Regions from separate parts of the Homo sapiens genome. Here region 1 is linked to region 2. Evidence: promoter capture Hi-C in 16 types of primary human blood cells and fetal thymus (Javierre and others, 2016). All regions are on one chromosome and are shown on one strand. The core of a region is centred on a gene start or on the middle of the fragment in contact, and the rest is flanking DNA. Distances in the headings are between cores, read along the strand shown. Region 1 has its middle 12 kb from the start of SLC29A2. Region 2 holds the start of RCE1 (Ras converting CAAX endopeptidase 1).

Evidence for each region. Contacts are between HindIII fragments. The CHiCAGO score rates a contact against its expected background, and 5 or more counts as called.
Region 1: a contact is called between a fragment that was not itself captured here and the fragment with the promoter of RCE1 in region 2, in 1 of 17 cell types (erythroblasts). The highest score is 5.1, in erythroblasts.

Annotation. Positions count from the first base shown.
Region 1 is chr11:66,381,581-66,386,269 of GRCh38, reverse strand. No RefSeq gene overlaps it. Among named protein-coding and RNA genes, the nearest start is that of SLC29A2, 12 kb to the right of the region's middle. RefSeq lists enhancers at 1-92, 2,716-3,216, 3,217-3,717. The HindIII fragment of the contact is 6,213 bases long and covers 1-4,689 here.
Region 2 is chr11:66,840,162-66,845,434 of GRCh38, reverse strand. It overlaps RCE1 (Ras converting CAAX endopeptidase 1), which reads right to left and starts at 1,994. Exons shown (of 8, transcript NM_005133.3): 1 at 1,795-1,994; 2 at 1,574-1,676; 3 at 1,396-1,479; 4 at 1,071-1,149; 5 at 399-566; 6 at 198-269. The coding sequence starts at 1,979. It overlaps TOP6BL (TOP6B like initiator of meiotic double strand breaks), which reads right to left. Exons shown (of 15, transcript NM_001302084.2): 14 at 2,366-2,586; 15 at 1,919-2,266. The coding sequence ends at 2,201. RefSeq lists an enhancer at 1,417-2,123 and silencers at 1,764-2,203, 2,314-2,453, 3,671-3,797. The HindIII fragment of the contact is 21,944 bases long and covers 1,229-5,273 here.

The DNA.
Region 1 (4,689 bases), core at 929-3,428, 460 kb after region 2:
GTTGCCCAAGCTGGAGTGTAATGGCGCAATCTTAGCTCAGTGCAACCTCCGTCTCCCGGGTTCAAGCGATTCTCTGGTGATTAACAAATTAGAGTGGTAGACACCCCCTCCCGGCCATCCATCTATAATCTGAGCTCTGGAGGACCCTAGGATGTGAAATCGTGTGATGTTCTTGGTTCCTGTCCCTCTGCTTATGTGTGTGTGTGTATATATATCTATATCTATATATATAGATATATAGATATAGATATAGATATTTGTTTTGTTGTTGTTGTTTGTTTGTTTTTTAAGAAACATGGTCTTGGCCAGGAGCGGTGGCTCACGACTGTAATCCCAGCACTTTGGGAGGCCAAGGCAGGTGGATCACCTGAGGTCAGGAGTTGGTGACCAGCCTGGCCAACATGGTGAAACCCCATCTCTACTAAAAATACAAAAATTAGCCAGGCATGGTGGCTCTTGCCTGTAATCCCAGTTACTCGGGAGGCTGAGGCAGAAGAATAGCTTGAACCTGGGAGGCGGAGGTTGCAGTGAGCCCAGATGGCGCCACTGCACTCCAGCCTGGGCAACAGAGAGGGACTCCATCTCAAAAAAAAAAAAAAAAAATTACATTAGCTGGACATGGTGATACATACCTATAGTCCCAGTTTCTCAGGAGGCTGAGGTGGGAGGATTGCTTGAGCCCAAGAGTTCAAGGCTGCCATGAGGTATAATCACACCCCTGCACTCCAGCCTGGCAACAGAATGAGATTCTGATTATTAAAAAAAAAAAAAAAAAAAAAAAAGGCCAGGCGCGGTGGCTCATGCCTGTAATCCCAGCACTTTGGGAGGCCAAGGCGGGCAGATCGCCATGTCAGGAGATCGAGACCATCCTGGCTAACACGGTGAAACCTCGCCTCTACTGAAAATACGAAAAAAAAATTAGCCGGGCGTTGTGGCAGGCGCCAGTAGTCCCAGCTACTCAGGAGGCCGAGGCAGGAGAATGGTGTGAACCCGGGAGGCGGAGCTTGCAGTGAGCCGAGATCGTGCCACTGCACTCCAGCTTGGGCGACAGAGCAAGACTCTGTCTCAAAAAAAAAAAAAAAAAAGCCTGTCACATGTCACAGGGCCATGGAAGCCAACTTGAAAGAAATTCCAGCAGCCAATGCTGGAACAATTTGAGCAACAAAGTAAATAGCATGGTATTGAATTATAAGTCAAAGTATGAAATATATCCACATGAGTCTATACTGATCATACTGATATAAAATAATTGAATAAATAAGCAAATAGGGGAGAAGAGACAAATCATCCTTACAGAAGAATTTCAAATAATATGTAATATATAGAGATACTCCTTAATCCAAGAGGTAGAGCTTAGTACCATCCTCCTGTAACTGTAGGCTGGACTTAGCAACTAGCCTCCAAAGAATAGGGTATGGAAAGGACAAATAATAACTTTTTTTTTTTTGAGACGGAGTCTTGCTCTGTCTCCCAGGATGGAGTGCAGTGGCATGATCTCAGCTCTCTGGCTCCCAGTTTCAAGCGATTCTCCTGGCTCAGCCTCCCAAGTAGCTGGGACTACAGGGGTGTGCCACCATGCCTAGCTAAGTTTTGTATTTTTAGTAGAGACGGGGGTTTCACCGTGTTGGCCAGAATGGTCTCGATCTCTTGACCTCATGATCCGCCCGCCTCTGTCTCCCTCCCAAGCTAGGATTACAGGCGTGAGCCACCGTGCCCGGCTGACAAATAGTAACTTTATACTAGATAAACTTGGCAAACGTGACTTAACCAGGTGACCAAAGTCGACATCAAGAATATCTGCATAGGCCAGGTGCAGTGGCTTATGCCTGTAATCCCAGCACTTTGAGAGGCCAAGGCGGGCGGATTGCTTGAGCTCAGGAGTTTGAGAACAGCCCAGGCAACATGGTGAAACCCTGTCTCTACCAAAAATACAAAAAATTAGCCGGGCATGGTGGCGTGCATCTGTAGTCCCAGCTACTCAGGAGGCTGAGGTGGGAAGATGGCTTGAGCCTGGGAGGTGGAGGTTGCAGTGAGCCGAGATCATGCCACTGCACTCCAGCCTGGGTGACAAAGTGAGACCCCATCTCAAAACAAAAACAAAAACAAAAAGAATCCGCAGAGAAAAACCACCATCAGCAAAGTCAAGTGACAAACTAAGAAAAAATTCACAACTCGTATGACACACAAACGTTTAATTTTCCCAAAATAAAGACCTCTTGCCGGCCGGGTGCGGTTGGCTCACGCCTGTAATCCCAGTACTTTGGGAGGCCACCTCTTGCCGGCCGGGTGCGGTGGCTCATGCCTGTAATCCCAGCACTTTGGGAGGCCAAGGTGGGTGGATCATGAGGTCAGGAGATCGATGCCATCCTGGCTAACTCTGTGAAACCCCGTCTTTACTAAAAATACAAAAAATTAGCTGGGCGTGGTGGCAGGCGCCTGTAGTCCCAGCTACTTGGGAGGCTGAGGCAGGAGAATGGCATGAACCCGGGAGGCGGAGCTTGCAGTGAGCAGAGATTGCGCCACTGCGCTCTCCAGCCTGGGCGACAGAGCGGGACTCCGTCTCAAAAAAAAAAAAAAAAAAAAAAGACCTCTTGCCATTCACTATTAAGAAGCAACAAAAAGAGCAACAACCCAGTAGAAAAATGGACAAATAACAGAAACAGTTCTCAGAAAAAGAGGCTTTTAAATAGATTAGCTTGAACCATATATAAAGTTGCCAATATTGACTTTTGACTTATAAAACTGACAACTTTATATGATTTAACTATTAAAAGTTGCTAACCCACAGCAAAAGGTTAATGCCAATTGAAACTATACTGATACCAGTTTCCACCTACAGTTTGGTTAAGAACAAAACATTTAGGCTGGGCACGGTGGCTCACGCCTATAATCCCAGTACTTTGGGAGGCCGAGGAGGGCAGATCGCCTGAGGTCAGGAGTTCGAGACCAGCCTCACCAACTTGGTGAAACCCCATCTCTACCAAAACTACAAAAAATTAGCCAGGCGTGGTGGCGCGCTGCTGTAATCCCAGCTACTCGAGAGGCTGAGGCAGGAGAATCGCTTGAACCCAGGAGGCAGAAGTTTCAGTGAGCCAAGATCGCCCATTGCATTCCAGCCTGGGCAACAAGAATGAAACTCTGTCTCAAAAAAAAAAAAAAAAAAAAAAAAAAGTGCTAGGTGCAGTGGCTGACACCTATAATCTCAGCACTTTGAGAGGCTGAGGTGGGCGGATTACCTGAGGTTGGGAGTTCAAGACCAGCCTGACCAACATTGAGAAACCCCGTCTCTACGAAAAATACAAAAAAAAAAAAATTAGCCAGGCGTGGTGGCGCATGCCTGTAATTCCAGCTATTCAGGAGGCTGAGGCAGAGTTGCTTGAACCCGGGAGGCAGAGTTGCTTGAACCCGGGAGGCAGAGGTTGTAGTGAGCCAAGATCGCGCCATTGCACTCCAGCCTGGGCAACAAGAGCAAAACTCTGTCTCAAAAAAAAAAAAAAAAAGAACAAAACATTTAACAACATCCTGCTGGCTGGATAACAGGCACCAACATATATAGCTGGTGGAACTGTGAACTGGTGCAATCTCTGTGGAGAGCAATTTAGCAGCATCTATTAAAATTACAGGTGTAAAAAAAATTTAGCTGTATATATCCTCGAAAGCATTTCCACTTCTAGGAATTTCACCTACAGATAAACTCCCAAATGTTATTCATTGCACCATTATTTATAATAACAGATGAATGGAAATCATCTATTTTATTTTTGTGTTTGTTTTTGTTTCTTGTTTATTTTATGCTTTTTTTTCTTTTTGTACTTTTTTCTAGATTGGAAACAATCTAACGTAAATGTCCATCGATAGGGGACTACTTTTTTTTTTTTTTTTTTGAGATGGAGTCTCGCTCTTGTTGCCCAGGCTGGAGTGCAGTGGCGCAATCTCGAGTCACTGCAGTCTCCACCTCCCGGGTTCAAGCGATTCTCCTGCCTCAGCCTCTCAGCCTTTTTTCTTTTTTCTTTTCTTTTCTTTTTTTTTTCTTTTCTTTTTTTAAGACGTAGTCTCGCTCTGTCACCCAGGCTGGAGTGCAGTGGCGTGATCTCGGCTCACTGCAAGCTCCGCCTCCTGGGTTCCCGCCATTCTCCTGCCTCAGCCGCCCAAGTAGCTGGGACTACAGGCCCCAGTCACCACGCCCTGCTAATTTTTTTTGTATTTTTAGTAGAGACGGGATTTCACCATGTTAGCCAGGATGGTCTCGATCTCCTGACCTCGTGATCCGCCCGCCTCGACCTCCCAAAGTGCTGGGATTACAGGCATGAGCCACCGCGCCCGGCCATTTTTTCTTTTTTTTAAGAGATGAGGTCACACTATGTTGACCAGACTGGTCTCGAACTCCTGGTCTCAAGAGATCCTCCCATCTTGGCCTCCCAAAGTACTGGAATTACAGGCGTGAGCCACTACACCCAGCCAATAGGGGACTACTTTAAAACATTATGGTTTAGCTATACAATGAACAACGTTATTAAACAAAAACAAGTTTAAGGAGTCAGGCAATATGATTCAGAGAAACTGCTCCCGGTATAGTGCAACTAAAATGCCGGAGAAGGCCAGGCACGGTGGCTCACGCCTGTAATCCCAGTACTTTGGGAGGCCGAGGTGGGCAGATCACCTGAGGTCGGGAGTTTGAGACCAGCCTGA
Region 2 (5,273 bases), core at 745-3,244:
ATCAGCCAAAGACCGACCATCCCCTCCCCCCGGGGCAGTAGCTGCCTGCCCCACCACCTACAGCTGTCCTGCACCCCAACTTCCCACGGTCAGTGGCCTCTCCAATACTGTGGCCCTCAGTTCCCAATTCCTTCTCCAGAGTGGCCATTAGCGACATCATCATACACCCTAACCCAGGCCAGCTAGCCAGGACTCACCAGCAGACAAGAAGATGTTCCCCACGCTGCTCTGGCGGAAACGCAGCTGCTCAATAATATGGTGAAAATGGGCTGGGAAAAAGGTGACAATCACATCACAGTCATTCCTCCCAGCCTCCCTTCTAGGACTGCCCCTCACCTCAAGCCCCCTTCTGAGCTCTCATGCTGAAAACACACCAGGACTAATCTGGCCAGACTCACCAACTCCAAAAAAGAGCGGGCAGGTGAACACAGCAGGGCCCAGGCCCATGCACGGTGCTAACATGGGCAGCATACAGGCCCGGAACACCAGCTCCTCTGTCAGCGGGGCGATCACTTGGTTCCGCAGCCAACGCATGTCTGTGAGGCAGCGGGCCCAGGAGCGGGGGGCTGCAGAGGGAATTCAGGACAAGCTGTGAGTGACGGGCTGTCAGACAGTGAGACCCCAGAGGCTCCAAGGGCTCCTCTCCCACAACTTTACCCTGGCCAAACTCAGGTTAGGCATCAATACTGCTGAGGACGGGGGTGTGGACCCAACATAAACCCAATGTCTTGAGATGACCTGAATGGAAGGCATTAGCTGAGGCAAGGGCATCCTGGAAGTAAACTCTGGAGACACCAAAATTTAAGCAAGACTAGCTCTGGTTGGGGAAGCAGGGGACAGTGCTCTCTGATCCACACCAAATACTGCTGGGGGTTCCCAGGGAACTCCTTGGACGTTGGCAATCAACCCTTAGAGGCCACCTAGCTCTATGTTTCCATTTTACTGATGAGAAAACACACCCAGAGAGATGACATTTCACGTGTCCAGATCACACCCTGAGCCCGCTGACTCCCTGCCCCAATGTCCTGGACTGCCTGTGCCTACTTTTCCCTTCAGCCTTTAAGACTCACCCAGGACAACCTTCAGCCCATCTGCCAGGTCACAAGGGCAATCCATAGAGAGCTGCATCAGTGGGCCCAGGAAAAGAATCTGAGGGCAAGAAAACACTTTCACCATAACCCACCGCTTTTGCCCAGACCTTTGCCCATGCTCCCTGAGACTCCAAGCTTGAAATCCTCTCCAGCCACGATTTCCAGACCATGCATACCGGAGGACCCTGGGGCCATCTCAAAAGTCCTGTCTCCCATCAACCAAAAACCAAAAACAAGAGTCCACGGCACTGCCCATCAGGCTGATAACAAAGACCAGAAGAAAAAATACAGCAGGAGCACTCACCATGGTCAGCAACAGGGGCAGCAGCGCCGCTGGGAAAATGCCCTCCAGCCTGAAGCCCATCAGGGTGAGCAGGGATGTGCCTGGCTGAGCCACAGGAAAGGGGGCATCAGTTTTGCTTCCTCCCCTAAAGACCCCTGAGCTCTCACCGCCGTTGCCCTTTGCCCCGCCTCCTTCGCACCTGGATGCCTGTGAGTTCCCTCCAGAGCAGCACGCACAGGGGTGAGAGACTGGACACCACCAGGACGCTGGTGAAGCGTCGCTTGATGACCGCGGGATGGTCCCTACGGAGGGGACAGTAAGTTCAGGGGGCCCGCGGCTGCCCATGAGCACGGACCCGCCCCCGGCTCGCCCAAGCTCCGCCCGCAGGGCGCGGATTCCGGTCGCGCGCAGCCCCCGCACCTGGGCAGTTCGCTCTTCCAGACGTAGAGGCTGCCCACGTAGGAGCAGGCGAGGCTGAGGCAGGAGAACACTGACACCCAGCAGCACAGCCCGGGGCCCAGGCCGCCCAGCGCCGCCGACTCGGGCGGCCGCTCCGGCCGCGACACCGACAGCAGTCGCAGCCCATCCCCGCCCAGCGCCGCCATTGCGCCCTGACCCGCGGCGCGCACCAGTGACGCAGTCCCAGGGAGGTGTGGGTGACGTCAGGCCGCGGCGCGGCTCCACGCCCCGCCCCGCCCCGCCCGGGCCCGACGCGGAAGCAGACGCGGAAGAGGACTTGGTGAGCGCGCGGCAGCTTTATTAAACCACGGGATAACGGCTGCCCGCAGCCTCCGGATCGGTGGGCGCTTGCGGAAGGGGACCCGGCTCAGGGCCCAGGGCTGGGACTCAGCCACTCTGACAGGTTGGAGACCTCCTGCAGCCACAGCACGTCCTGCGGGAACAAGGGGGCCCGGGGTGAGGACCTCTCAGCAGCGGCCCGTGGCCTGCACCTCCTGCTGAGCCCTTCCCTGCGCGGCCCTCGCCCAGTTACCTCCAGGCGGCTTCCGAGGCTCGCCCTGCCCGGCGCCAGGGCCCTGCCGTGAGCCTCGCGGTGCTCCCTTCCTCTAGGAGTGAGGGGGGCCGCGGTGGCTTCCGGGCGGCGCGGGGCGGCCTCTGACGGGCTCGGGGCCCTGGCAGAGCGCAGAGCTCGCATCTCCTCTATGCGGGGGCTGCCCCTCTTGAGCCTCTTGTTTTCTGCTTGCCCGCTGGTATCTAGGAGAAAAACAAGCCTCTTCATCTTACTTTCATGGCCCTGTGCTAGGAGCACCCTTGGCCAAGGGGAAGCCTGGGAGAACGGGCGCCGAGGGGCTCTTCCCACCGCATCCCTGTCAGCAGGTCCCATCCACACCAAAACCCTGCAGCTGTGGGCGCTTCTGGAGCAGCCCGAGGCTGCAGAGACGTTTCAGGGTCTCCCTATTCTCTCACCCAGGCGGGAGATTGTCCCGAGCCCTCACTTGGGGGACTCAGGCCGCTCAGTAACTTTCTGTATAGATTCTTCCTGGAGTCTGCACTGACAAGCTCCCCTCCCTGCCAGCCTCTGTCCCCCCTCACCTTTCTGGCCTCAGTTCTGTCTCCCTTTGTTGCTCACGTTGCATTGAGCAGTGCCCATAGGCAGCTTTCCTACTCTTAACTGATTCATTTGTCAAATTAAAGCGAGTTTAGATGGATAGATTCTTCCCCAGCAGGTCTTGGGGATGCAGATCAATGAGCTTTTCCCTGAGAGAAGCTCACAGATGCTAGGAGGGGATGCAGACCTGTGTACAAAGCCCAGGGTTAGAATAGAGAAGGAAGCCGACCACCTCTGGATGTGAAGAAGGGTTTCCATGAGGAGATACCTGAGCTGACCTTTTGTTTTTTTGAGACAAGGTCTTGCTCTGTTGCCCAGGCTGGAGTGCAGTGGCTCAGTCCTGGCTCACTGCAGCCTCGACCTCCTGGGCTCAAGCGATCCTACTGCCTCAGCTTCAGCTTCCAGAGTACCAGGAACCACAGGCGCATGCCACCACACCGGCTAATTTTTTTTACTTGTAGAGACAGGGGTCTCACCGTGTTGCCCAGGCTAGTCTCAAGCTGTCCTCCCGCCCCAGCTCCCCAAAGTGACGGTATTACAGGCATAAGTCACCACTCCTGCCCCAGAGCTGGGTTTTGAAGGATGAAGAGTGATATGCCAGACAAGGGAGAGAAAGGGAATTTCTTGCTGAAAGTTAACACAAACCTTATGCAAAGGCATAAAACAACTTCCTATGTAAATTTTTACTTTTTAAAGATGAGGTCTCGCCTGTCACCTAGGCTGGAGTGCAGTGGCGTGATTGTAGCTCACTGCAGCTTTGAACTCCCGGCCTCATCCTCTCGAGTAACTGGGACTAAAGGCACACACCACCTTGCCTGGCTAGAAACAGATTTTCATCTGTAGAAGACAGGAAGCCAATAAAGAGTTTTAAGCACTGGTGAAATATATTGGTAATTTTGTACTTCAGAAAGATCGTTCTTTCAAAGGTGTGGCTTAGATCAAACTAGAGACAGGAAGACCTTAAGAGCCCAATAACAAGTAAAGACAGTGGAGATAGAGGCGTCACCAGGAATCAGAAGTGTTCATCAGGCCTAAGTGATAGGCCTTTGTGAGCGCCTGGATGTGGGAGAGGCCTCTTGGCCGGGCGCGGTGGCTCATGCCTGTAATCCCAGCACTTTGGGGGGCCGAGGCGGGCAGATCACGAGGTCAGGAGATTGAGACCAGCTTGGCCAACATGGTGAAACCCCGTCTCTACTAAAAATACAAAAATTAGCTGGGCATGGTGGTGGGCGCCTGTAATCCCAACTACTCAGAGGCTGAGGCAAGAGAATCACTTGAACTTGGGAGGCAGGGAGGTTGCAGTGAGCCGAGATCACGCCACTGCACTCCAGTCTGGGCAACAGAGGGAGACTCTGTCTCAAAAAAAAAAAAAAAAAAAAAAAATGAGAGGCCTCTTGAATGAATCCAAGATTTCAGATGTGATAAATTGGATTAATCATGAAACAGACTAAAAGTCTCTTTAGTCAGGAGAGAGGAAACTGAGGTACCAATGGGACCTCCACGAGGAGCTGCCTAGTGAGCAAATGAATCTCCCAGCTGGCACTCAGCAGAGGCCTTGGCTGGTCATACCAATTTGAGAGTCTTGAGCCCAGAGGCAGTGGTCAACAGTTGGGATGGAAGATAGCTGGGTGGGAGAGCAGGATGAGCACTATTTAGGCATGACCAGAGGAAAGTAGATGAAGAGAAAAGCCCAGGGAGGGAAAAACCAGGCGAGTCATAGCCTTACAGTGCCAAATTTTGCACATAGTTCAGATACAATGAAGGTAAATGCAAAATTTGGTAATTAAGAGGCCTTCCCTGAGGAGAGAAGTTTCAGAGGCCACAGAAAAAGCAAGTACCCTAAGTGAGGGAGAGAATGAGAGGAAGAAAGGGAGACAGGGTGCATGCAGCTTGTGGTTTTGAGATCCTTGGCTGAGATGTGAGGGAGAGAGGTTGAGGATAAGTGGAGGAAGTTCAAGGTCACGGGAGATTTTCTTCTGATGAAATGAGAGCTTGACCTGCTGAGGGAAAGGAACTCAGGGGAAGGCTGAAGGTGCAGCAGTGATAACTGATGCAAGCAGGTCCCAAGAAAGCAGAAGGGACGATCCCACTGTGAGCCTGGAGGAAATGGGTCCCCACACTGATGAGGTTCTGCAGTGGGAGGGTGCAAGTTGGGTGAGTTTACTGAGAAAAGAGATCCGTAAGTATGAAGCAGGAGGCAGAGACTGGGTAGATTTTTTAAAGAATGGAGTAGCCACTGAGGGACAAAGGCCAGAAAGGCAGGGGGAAGGACTGACAAACCAAAGGCTCCTGAGTGAGTGGACCACCAATGGATGGTGGCATCAACACACAG